Linked DNA regions of Homo sapiens: all the other regions are linked to region 1. The links are contacts of gene promoters, found by promoter capture Hi-C in human tissues and cell types (Jung and others, 2019). All regions are on one chromosome and are shown on one strand. Each heading gives the region's core, a stretch centred on a gene start or on the middle of the fragment in contact. The rest is flanking DNA. Distances are from core to core; before and after follow the strand shown.

Evidence for each region. The method cuts DNA at HindIII sites, captures the fragments that hold promoters and counts their contacts. A contact is called where the count stands out against the background at its distance.
Region 2: a fragment that was not itself captured here is called in contact with the fragment with the promoter of STARD5 in region 1 in 1 of the 25 tissues and cell types used here (dorsolateral prefrontal cortex).
Region 3: a contact is called between a fragment that was not itself captured here and the fragment with the promoter of STARD5 in region 1, in 1 of the 25 tissues and cell types used here (hippocampus).

What each region holds. Positions count from the first base shown.
Region 1 is chr15:81,322,164-81,325,835 of GRCh38, forward strand. It overlaps STARD5 (StAR related lipid transfer domain containing 5), which reads right to left and starts at 1,978. Exons shown (of 6, transcript NM_181900.3): 1 at 1,838-1,978; 2 at 736-785; 3 at 245-377. The coding sequence starts at 1,936. TMC3-AS1 (TMC3 antisense RNA 1) reads left to right here and starts at 2,170. Exons shown (of 7, transcript NR_120365.1): 1 at 2,170-2,398. RefSeq lists a silencer at 2,470-2,519. The HindIII fragment of the contact is 12,739 bases long and covers 1-3,672 here.
Region 2 is chr15:82,175,232-82,178,903 of GRCh38, forward strand. All of the region lies in intron 15 of EFL1 (elongation factor like GTPase 1), which reads right to left. Among named protein-coding and RNA genes, the nearest start is that of EFL1, 86 kb to the right of the region's middle. The HindIII fragment of the contact is 3,059 bases long and covers 483-3,541 here.
Region 3 is chr15:82,074,532-82,078,203 of GRCh38, forward strand. No RefSeq gene overlaps it. Among named protein-coding and RNA genes, the nearest start is that of LINC01583, 12 kb to the right of the region's middle. The HindIII fragment of the contact is 5,623 bases long and covers 1-3,672 here.

The DNA of each region.
Region 1 (3,672 bases), core at 728-3,227:
GGAACAGGTATGCTCCCCGCAGAGACTCTGTTTGGGGCTTCTCTCCCTCTCTGAGTCATGAGGTTTCCCACCGGGAAACTGGGCTGAGGCAGGCCTCCAATGCTGCAAGCAGTGGGCAGCCTGTGCTTGCAGGACACACCCCCTTAACAAAAGGTATCACGGACCCCTTCCAGAAGAAATGGGAGGGGGTTACTATAGCCTGGCCCAGACACTATCTAGAGATAACATGCTTGGAAAGACTTACGTCAGTGATGCTTTGGATAATTTCAAAACCGGTCACATTCTCATCCCACTTCACTCGTAGGCCTCCAACAGCTGGCTTCACACAGTCCCACACCTCCTCTAGTGTCCCATATACAATGCCTTCTCCTCGGTACCTGGAGCACGAAAAGGAATTTGACCCCAACGCATCAATCAAACTTGTTATCTTGAGATTGTATCTAAGGACTAGAAGGTGGACCATGCCATGTCTGTCACTACTCTTTAGGACAGACTTGCAGAGAAGGGGCTGAAAGTCACTAGCCCCGCCTCCCTTCAGGCCTGCAGAAATGGACAGTAAGCTTTCACAAGAATACAGTTTGCTGGAAATGATTTCATTAAAAACAGTAAGGCTTTTCTGGAGGACAAGTGATCACAGGTTATAGGGTTGATTTGAATATTTTAGGAGGCAGGCCCATAAAGATACCAGGAAGGGTGCGGCACCTCTGGTAATCTTTGAACGAGGCATGCACTTACAGGTTCCCTGGAAACTCCACAGATGGCCTCCAGGAAACTGAAACTCCATTCTGTCAAAAGGCACAGAACCACAGAATTTTAGAGCTAGAAGGGCTCTGGTCACCTGGCTTAATCCCCTGTTCTACAGAAGAGGGGTAAGAGGCCTCAAGAGATACGACTCTCCAAGGCTGTGCAACCCATACGTGGAAAAGCTGGGACTAGTCTTGGGCAAAGCTGTCCCCACAGCAGAATGTGATGAAGAAAAAGATCTTAACTGGCTGACTCCAAGAGCCGTGGGTGGTTTTTAAAATTATCTTAAAAGCCACCAGGCATTCTGTTTCCTTGAGCAACCCAGGGCTACTTAATGAAAAGTCAGAAGGGTCAAGCAAAACTACTCCCATGCTACCCTCTGGCAACGACAAAGAGAGGGGTTCATGCTGTAATGAAAAGTCAGAAGGGTCAAGCAAAACTACTCCCATGCTACCCTCTGGCAACGACAAAGAGAGGGGTTCATGCTGTAATGAAAAGTCAGAAGGGTCAAGCAAAACTACTCCCATGTTACCCTCTGGCAACGACAAAGAGAGGGGTTCATGCTGTAATGAAAAGTCAGAAGGGTCAAGCAAAACTACTCCCATGCTACCCTCTGGCAACGACAAAGAGAGGGGTTCATGCTGTAATGAACACAGAAGAAAACCTTAGTATGCATCAGATGCTGGATCAGACTTTACTGGATTTAAACAACATGTAAAAACCTCCTTAGCTGCGACCACATTCTTTCATTTTGTTTTGTTTTTAAACACCTGCTTACCCCTTAAATGCAATTTATTTACTTTTACCACTGTCACAGAAACATCCAGTCCTAAACAGCATTCAACAGCCAGGTGACCTTGGGCAAGTCACTGAGTGAAAGGAACAGATACTTACCACCTGAAGTCATTGTGAGCATAACAGGCCCAATCTTTTTTTTAAAGAAGAAAACAATCCCCATTGGAATCCCTCTCAATCGGGTCCAGGGGATTGGGGAGCAGAAAACAACGGGGAGAGGAGGCGCTTGGGGGCTTCTGGGGACCCGGGCTCCACGAAGCCGTCTCCGCGACCCCTTCCCGCCCAGCTCCTCACTCACGCCTTCCCGGCAAATCTTCCAGCCTGCTGTGTCCCGCCGGTACTGGAGCATCTTCTCGGCCACAGCCTCGCTCATCTGGGCTGCCAGCGCCGGGTCCATTGCGTCGGGAGCTGCGCTTAGCTGCGGGGTCGCGGGTGTTATGAGCGGCGGCGCTGGATCCCGGGTGCCTGGAGGCTGGAGCTCTGGGAGGAGCTCGTAGCCCCGCCTCTTTCCGCGCCCCCGCTCCCGAATTGGTCCAGGCCCTCAGACGGATCCCGCCTCCCGGAGATTGGCAGGACAAGGAGACCGCGGGGCCAGGCTCTCCAGTTAGCGTCAGCGCCTGGGCGGGTCCCGGACGCCTTGGGCGGGCCGGGTAAGGTCCAGCCGTATCCGCCTCCTTCATGTCCCGCTGTGGGAGGGGCTCTGGAGCGCCGGGACTGTGAGATGGCCAATGACGGTCTGACCCGTTGGGCCGGGCCAGGTCGCGGACAACGTCGACCGTTTGTTTAAGAAGCGTGGACTCTTGTCCTGAGTGCACCGAGGCTTTCAGCCTGCGGGACAGTGGTGCGATTTGCATTAGAGGTAATATGCTAGGGCGGCTGCTGCAGGGTGGGAGAGGAAATGCGCGTGGAGACTGGGCGCGTGCAATGGTGGGAGAGGTGTGTGGCAGGGGTGCGGGGAGTGGGGGTGAAGAGAAGAGGACCCATCGTAGAGTGTTTAGGAGATGGAAGGTGAAGGTCTCTGCCCCCGATTGTGGATGTTCAGAAGGAGAAAGCATCATGACTCCCAGCCTTGGCCACCTGGCAGCTTACCTGAGATGGAGAAGAGATAGGGTGAGTTCAGTTCTGGGCATATTTAGTTGGAGGTGCCTGAAGGGCCTTTAGTGCAGGTGTCCAGGAGTCAATGCAATGCGCTGACATCTGCGAGAGGCCCGGCTTTATTAGAGATATGGGAGTTCTCTGCTTCCAGCTGCCCTGGAGCTGCGGGGAGTGAGCCAGGGTCGCATCTTCACAGCGTGAATGGCAAGGACAGCCTCGGTTTCCCCTCTTCTGCGCTATCACCAACTAAATATTTGAAAAGGTTAATACTGAGGTCTATTTCTTATCTTTCTTTTTTATGTACTTATTGTTTCCTTTAAACTTTCGATATAAATGTTTGGAAGAGTAGTGTAAACAAATTGACAACTTGAAAGACCTTTTTGGAAGATGTGAAGGGCAGCCAGGCTGTGAAGAAGACCTGGATGGGGAATTAGGGAGCTCAAGATCTAAACCCAGTTTCACTCATTATTCTTTGAGCTTCAGTTTACTCCAAGGTGAAATGGGATACATCATAAATGTTCCTGGCGGGGTCCGGTGGCTCACGCCTGTAATCCCAGCACTTTGGGAGGCTGAGGCAGGAGATCACTTGAACCTAGGAGTTCGAGACCAGCCTGAGCAGCATGGCGAGACTCCGTCTCTACTAAAAATTCAAAAATTAGCCGGGCATGGTGGCGCGGGGCTGTAATCCCAGCTACTTGGGGGGGCTGAGGTGGGAGGATCGCTTCAACCCGGGAGGCAGAGGCAGCAGTGAACCGTGATCGCGCCACTGCACTCCAGCCTGGGCTGCAGAGCAAGATCCTGTCTCAAAAAGTAATAAAAATAAACAAACAAACAAATAAATGTTCCCTATGCCCTTGTGAAGAGAGAGGGAAGTAACGCATGTAAATACTCTTAGGACCCATAAAAGAAAAGACTAGTAAATTAATCCCATTAAAAAATTAAGCACATCAAAATTTCATAAAAAGTTAGATAATATGAGAAAAAAATCGGGACACACTTTAACACATAAGTTTTCTTATCGAACCAAGGGCTCATACA
Region 2 (3,672 bases), core at 762-3,261, 850 kb after region 1:
GATGTGGCACAGGTACTGACTATGACACTGATACAGCTTACTTGAAGTAACAATATTAGGCAAAAGTAACAATATTAGAATGTTAACTAATTTTTAAGCAAATACAGATCATTTCAAGTCAAGCCAGTTATCTTTTCCAGGGCACGCATTACTTCCTGGTGAGAAGCAGCACAAGAACAGAAGCAGTTCTGTTATTGTGGACTGAAAAAATACAACCTTCACATTTTCTTTCTTACTTAGTAGATCAATGAAATAACCAGAACTACAGGTTGAATTTTTGGTATTAATACCATTTTCAATATGAATGGGGTTTTATACTACAGTAGTTATGGGTTTTAATTTTATGTTATAAAAACACAGTATTGGCCGGGTGCAGTGGCTCACGCATGTAATCCCAGCACTTTGGGAGTCATGAGTTAAAAGACCAGCCTGGCCAACATGGCAAAACCCCGTCTCTACTAAAAATACAAAAATTAGCCGGCAAGGTGGCAGGCACCTGTAATCCCAGCTACTCGGAAGGCTGAGGTGGGAGAATTGCTTGAACCCAGGAGGTTCAAGACCTGGGCAACAGAGCAAGACTACATCTTAAAAACTGAATTTTGAAGATTACTTAGAAATAAAGTAGAATATGTAATTCAATGTAAATAGGATGATATAAAAATAGAATAATAATAACTAAAATACAAACTGTAGGAATGCTAGTATTGAGATTACAAGTAATCTTTTAAAACCAAAAAATTATAATTTTTACCAGGAAAAGTTATTAGACACAAGCTACTATAATTTTTGAATTAAAGAGCTGCCATTATTGAAGATGTAAACTACACAAACTGATATTTGGCAATGGTGACACTGCAGTACAGTGGGGATGTGATAATGGTTCTAAGTCAACCAGATACCTGATTGAAAAAAATAATTGACATTGACTCCCACCTGACCTCTGTTACAAAAACCAATGTCAGACGGATTGCAGATCTAAATACAATAAGTAAAACAAAAAAAAGCTTATGGAATAACAACATAGAATATCACCATGACTTTGGAATAAGCAGATTTCTTAAACAAGACACAAAAAGCGTTAGTCGTAAAAGAAAAAATTGAAAAATATTAGATTATATTAAAACTAAGAACTTCCGTTTATCAAGAGACATCATTAGATGGCAGAAAGATAACTCGCAAAGGAGAAAATATTTGCAATACATATACCCATCCAGGGACTTTTATGCAGAATATATAAAGAATGCCTATAAATCAATACAAAAAAGGCAGAGAATCTATAAGTGGGTAAAGACTTAACAGGCATCCCACAAATCAGTAAACAACAATGGTCAATATATAAATGAAAAGGACCTTTCACTTCTCTAGTCACCAGCAAAATCTACGTAATATACTACCCCATACACACAAAAATGACTCGAATGAAAGCAAAAACAAGTATGGACAAAGATACAGAGCAACTGGAACTTTCAGATACCCCTGGTGGAAGCATAAAGTGGTACATTGACTAAGCTTGAGCATATGCCTACTCTATGACCCAATAATTTCTCTTCCATCAGAAAGCAGACACATTAACCAAAAGACATGTATAAGAATATTCAAAGTGACAATATTCATAATAGTCAAATACTGGAAATTACTTAAATATCCACCAACAGAAGAGTGGATAAATAAACTGGTAGTCACACAACACAGTAACATGAATGAGCAAATCACAACCATGTGCCATGACATGGATGAACCTCATAAACAGAATGCTAAATGAAAAATGCCCAATGCAAGAGCACATTCTATATATAAAGCTTAAAATCAGGTAAATCTAATAGGGTGAAGGGGTGCGGTGGCAGTAATTCGAAAGGAGCTTGGCTTCTGGGATGTTTGTAAGGTTCTGTTTCTGGGTCTGGGTACTAGTTACACTGGCATATGTTCAGTTTATGAAAATTCATCAAGCTGTGCATTTAAGATTTGCATACTTTTCTATGTGCATCTTATGCATCAATAAGTATACTTAAAATGTTATTTGACACAAATTACATGGGTATTTTAAGTGTTTCTGAGTCTTTTAGAGATGCTAATAACTGCAACTAATAAAAATAAACCATTTCAGAACCTTTAAAAAAGAACTGGCAGCAAAGGGGAGAGCACATGGTTCATCTCCTTGTATCTTTTTTCTCCACATCCTCTAATGACTAATAAAATGTGGCTTTCATTGCGAAGTCTTTACACTGATTCTCCTGGCCAGGTCTGTCCTCAACCAAATCACTTCCTTATTCAAGTGCGTGTAAACAGCCTCCTCCTGGCTGCATACTTCTGTCTACCCTCTGGCTCCTGACATTGTGGTTCACATGAAGTTTTTGGTCTTTTAAATACCCATTGGAAGACGCTCAAAAAGGCTCAGAAAACTGTTCCTTGATTTTGGTCTGCTTCATTTTTTGGGAAAGCAAAACAAGTCCCAGCACCACATGCTTCTCTACTGCTGCCTTTATTTATTTATTAAAAAACATCCAACACACTACCCAAAGAATTTTCAAGTGTCTCCTTCCACTTTTACCATCTACCACTGCCAAAATCTAACCACTAGCAGAGTAAAATAATCTCAGCTCACATCATGGGAAATATTTCTTTGGCTCTGAGAAAACCAGAGAGAAAGTGCTGCAAAATGTAGGTTAGGAAAATAATGTGAAAGTTATTTCAAGTTGATGATTTCCATAGTATGGAATGTGATGGTCTTGCATATGTGACTCTCTGAATAAAGACCCCAAAAATACTGTGAGGTAAGATTGTCATTTTTAATTGGCCCCAAATAGAAGAGTCATAAGGGATTTTCAGGGGAAGCCCCTTTACTCTATCAGGGATACTCAGGTGTCTTTTCTCAATAAGCATTCTTTAGATTTATCAGCAACAAACTAAAGAATTCCACTGTAATACAAAGCTAACATGCTGACAGAGCATCTTTGAAGAAGCTTTCACAAGACAGACTAATGTAAACAATTTTTTCAAGGCTTCCCAGCCTATGACTACCAGTGAAGTCTGATTAATAATAACCACCAAATCACACTGGCTCTCTGTCCACACCAGTTCATACGGGGCCTTATTTGGAATGTGTCTATCAACTAATCTGGGCATCCTAGTGGAAATTCCTCATGGGCCCACGAGCTCACACTTGCCATAGATACATGAACACTAGGGTTGTCAGGGTGCCCAAACTCTGCAGTAGTTTCTGGAGTAGTGGAAATGCTCCTTCCTTGTGCTTCACTCTCTTAGAGGGAAAAAGGCATTGTGGTGACCCAATGTCTTACAGAGGTCAGTTCTTCAGGTTTTACTCTTGCCTTCCAAAGGTCTCAATCAGCGGAGCAATAGGGCTGGGCCAAAAGGCAAATCAAGTGACAGGCAGCACATCATTCCTCCCTCTTGAGACTAAGGCTTGACTACTGGATTACCCTGTCATGCCTGGTTTCTTCTCCCTTAGGAGGAATTTCATTCCAGGAGGTATCCCAATCACTTTCAAGAGCTCATTCTACCAATTCTCTGGACATGCCCCTCCTCTGAACCCTAGAAAATAACACAGTCTATACTGAAGCTAATCCTTGGTACTTAACTGTTTGCATTACTATTCTCCATAAAGAAAATGGGCTTAGCATGGTGGCTCACACCTATAATCCCAGAATTTTGGGA
Region 3 (3,672 bases), core at 619-3,118, 750 kb after region 1:
AATCGACATGCAGAAGCTACTCAAACAATGAAAGCTGGGTTCAATTATCACTAAATAACTAGGCCTGTAGTCTTCTTCCATTTCAGGGGTCAGCAAAGTCTTTCTGTAAAAGACCAGATAGTAAAATTTTTCAGCTTTTCAGGCCATATGATCTCCCTGTTACAACTCCTCAACTCTGCTGGTATAGTGCAGAAGCTGCCGTAGACAATACATATGCACAACTGAATGTGGCTGTGTTCCAATAAAACTTTATTTATAGATCTGGAGACTGGAATTTCATGTAAGTTTCACATTTCCCCCCACCAACCATTTAAAAATGTAAAACCCATTATTTAGATCATGGGACATATAAAAACAAGCAGTGGAATAGATTTGGCTTGAAGGCTGTTGTTTGCCACCCTCTGTTCCATGCTAAAATCAGCTCTTCCTTACCAAAGGCAATTATCAAATTTTTTTTTTTTTTTTTTTTTTTTTGAGACAGAATCTCACTGTTTCCCAGGCTGAAGTACAGTGGTGCTATCTTGGCGCACTGCAGTCTCGACCTCCCAGGCTCAAGTGATCCTCCCACCTCAGTCTCTGAGTAGCTGGAACTATAGGCATGCACCACCACACCCGGCTAATTTTTTTGTAGAGTTTTGCCATATTGCCCAGGCTGGTCTTGAACTCTTGAGTTCAAGCAATCCTCCCACCTTGGCCTTCCAAAATGATGGGATTAAAGGTGTGAGCTACTGTGCCTGGCCTTTTTCACTCTTATAAAATATAAATTAAATACCAGAGTCTTTTCATTTTTAGAACCGTGGGGACAGTCGAGTGCCCAGAAGTGCAATTGTTAATTTATTTGTGCTACCACTATCCCACATCTATGGAATATTGTTTTGATTGAGTTCCTCTGGCCCCATGGGACACTAGAAGCAGTTTGTGGGGAGAAAGGGAACACTGCCTTTTGATTTCCCAGTGTACGTGCCCAAATGGAAGCACAGAGTTTCAAAGGCTGGCTTCTCTGCTTGCCAACTGCGTGGTGCTGGACCAGCATCTCAGTGTCCAAGTCAGCCATGCTGAGGCTCCCATCTCACCAGGTTGTTGCGAGGACTCAGTGTGACATGGCCCGTTCCATACCCAGCCCATGGCAGAGCTTCACACGCGCAGCAGAGACTATCCTGGGCATCCAGAGCAAACACTGCACGCGTGGTTTCTGGGTGTGCTGGCCCCTGGAGAAGGGCTCAGGGCTGGGAGGACTCAAGGATATCTTCAGCCCACGCAGAGAGGGAGTGTGATTAGCTAAAGTGCTTTTCTGGCTTCCATGCAGCAGGTAGCAGGTTCTTATCTCCAACTCCTGAGTAGAGTTGCACAAAAAACTCCAGTCTAACCAGCCAGCTCTTACCCATTAGTTCCTGAAAAGTCCCTGCTTCTCCCCAGCCACAGGAAAGAGACAATTTTGGGAGGAAAATCTTTCAGCTGCCTGAAAGAGTTCAACCCTCTTTGAGGCAGCTGTTCTCATGTCTGCAGGTTGACTTCCGCATCTCACCTAGGGCGCACAGATGTTTGCACAGTTGCCAGAGTTCATTTACTATTATATCTACACATAAACATTATCCCATGTTATGACATGGTTGTCACATGTGCCAGTGTTGGTGGTAGCATACTACTTCTCTGAATAGCTTTATCATTGTTGTCTTAACATTTCCCTACTGTTGAACATTAGATTGGGTTTTTTTAGTGTCAAATGCAACACAGTGATACTATCTTTGTGCCCGTAGCCTTTTTATTCTGCTGAACTATTTCTTTCCTTTGGATGGACTCTAAGGAGTACTGCAGTGAGATCAGGCAGGGGGTGTCCCCCTGGCCCTCCTTGGGCTGCGTCCCTCCCACCTGGTGAGGAGTCTGCAGGCCAAGGGAACATGCCCATTGCAAATCCACGTCCTCCCTTTTAGACCATTCTCCAGGTGCCTAGGACTCCCAGAAGTCCCTGCCCACTGGCCCCATGCTCATCTCCAGGGCCTGCCCAGCCCTGGTCCCTGAGTCTCTCCTCCTGAGATCCAATCACACCACCAGTAGACACACCCGGATCTGAGGAGTGGCCACAGGCAGGGGGTAGTGAACAGAGTTTGGACGCATGGGCTAGGCTGTCCACTCACATTCACATGAGGCCCCCTCAGTGCTGGACAGACTTAGGAATTGGAAAGACAGTGGGTCTGGGGGCTAGCAACTGGCTCTCCCCATGCCGTCATGTTCCAACACAGGATGCAGAGGCATCTGAGAATTTTTAACTTGAGCCCTTCCAGGTGGTGGTGACAGTATATTTGCCAAGGCAGGAGGCTAGAACATATTTTCATTTAACAGTTTGTAACCTGATTTCTAACTTTAAACTACTTATACATATGGTATGTGAGGCTCCATTTATACCCTTGCCTGGAACCCTGCAAATCATTAAGAGGAGGTCTGGGCGAAAGGTTGTGACCATTTCTGCAGTCTCTTGCTGTGTCTATATTGCTACGTTGCTTTTCCAAATAGCTGTACTGGTTTACAGTTTATGAATGTACCGGTTTCAGCACACTCTGTCAGGCACTGGGGATCACAGTTGTTGCCGATTCAGTAGGTGTGAAATCATTTGCCAACATTGTTTGACTCTGCATTTCTTTGATCACCTGCAAGAATAATAAAAGCTACTTTTATTGAGCTCTTACTATGTATCAGGCAATCAGGCACTATGATAAGGCACTTTGCCAGTATTTTCTCATTTACTCTTCCCAGGAACCCCTTGAAGTATATATAATTAGGATTCCTATTTTAGAGATTGGAACACAGAGCTTGAAGGAATAAAGAAATTTGCCCAACATTGCAGTTAGCAATTGGGGCAGCCAGGATGAGAAACCAGGTACGTCCGACTCCAAAATCTGTGATTTTCAGTTATGTTACACATGTCTTGCATGTATCTATGTCCTAAATGTACTTACTTTTTGGTGATTGACTTTTTAAAAATTATTTTAAACTTTTAATTTTGGAATAATTTTAGATTTACAGAAGAGTTACAAAGATGGCATATATGATTCTTGTATACCCTTTATCCAGCATTGCCTACTAGTAACATCTTACACAATCATGGTACATTTGTCAAAACTAAGAAATTGTTATTGATATAATACGCCTGGGTGTGGTGGCACATGGCTGTAATCTCAGCACTTTGGGAGGCCGAGGTGGGCAGATCACAAGGTCAGGAGTTCCAGACCAGCCTGGCCATCATGGTGAAACACCGTCTCTGCTAAAAATCCAAAAATTGCCTGGGCGTGGTGGCAGGCGCCTGTAGTCCCAGCTACTCAGCAGGCTGAGGCAGGAGAATCGCTTGAACCTGGGAGGCGGAGGTTGCGGTAAGCCGAGATCACACCACTGACTCTAGCCTGGGCGACAGAGCAAGACTCCATCTCAAAAAAAAAAAAAAAAAAAAAAAAGCCTCAGACCATTTTAAACAAAACAAAGAGGGTCTCAAAATTCTCACCAACTAAAGTCACCCAGTCCCATTAGTATTCAGATCTAGCTCCAAAGTCATCCCAGCTGATCAGCACTCAGAGCCTCACTAGCTATAAATTCATTCACAACATTGACCACGTGAAATTGGTTCGCAAATTTTCATCTCAGAAACTGCATTGCACTCCTGAGTGACAGTCGCAAAGTTCC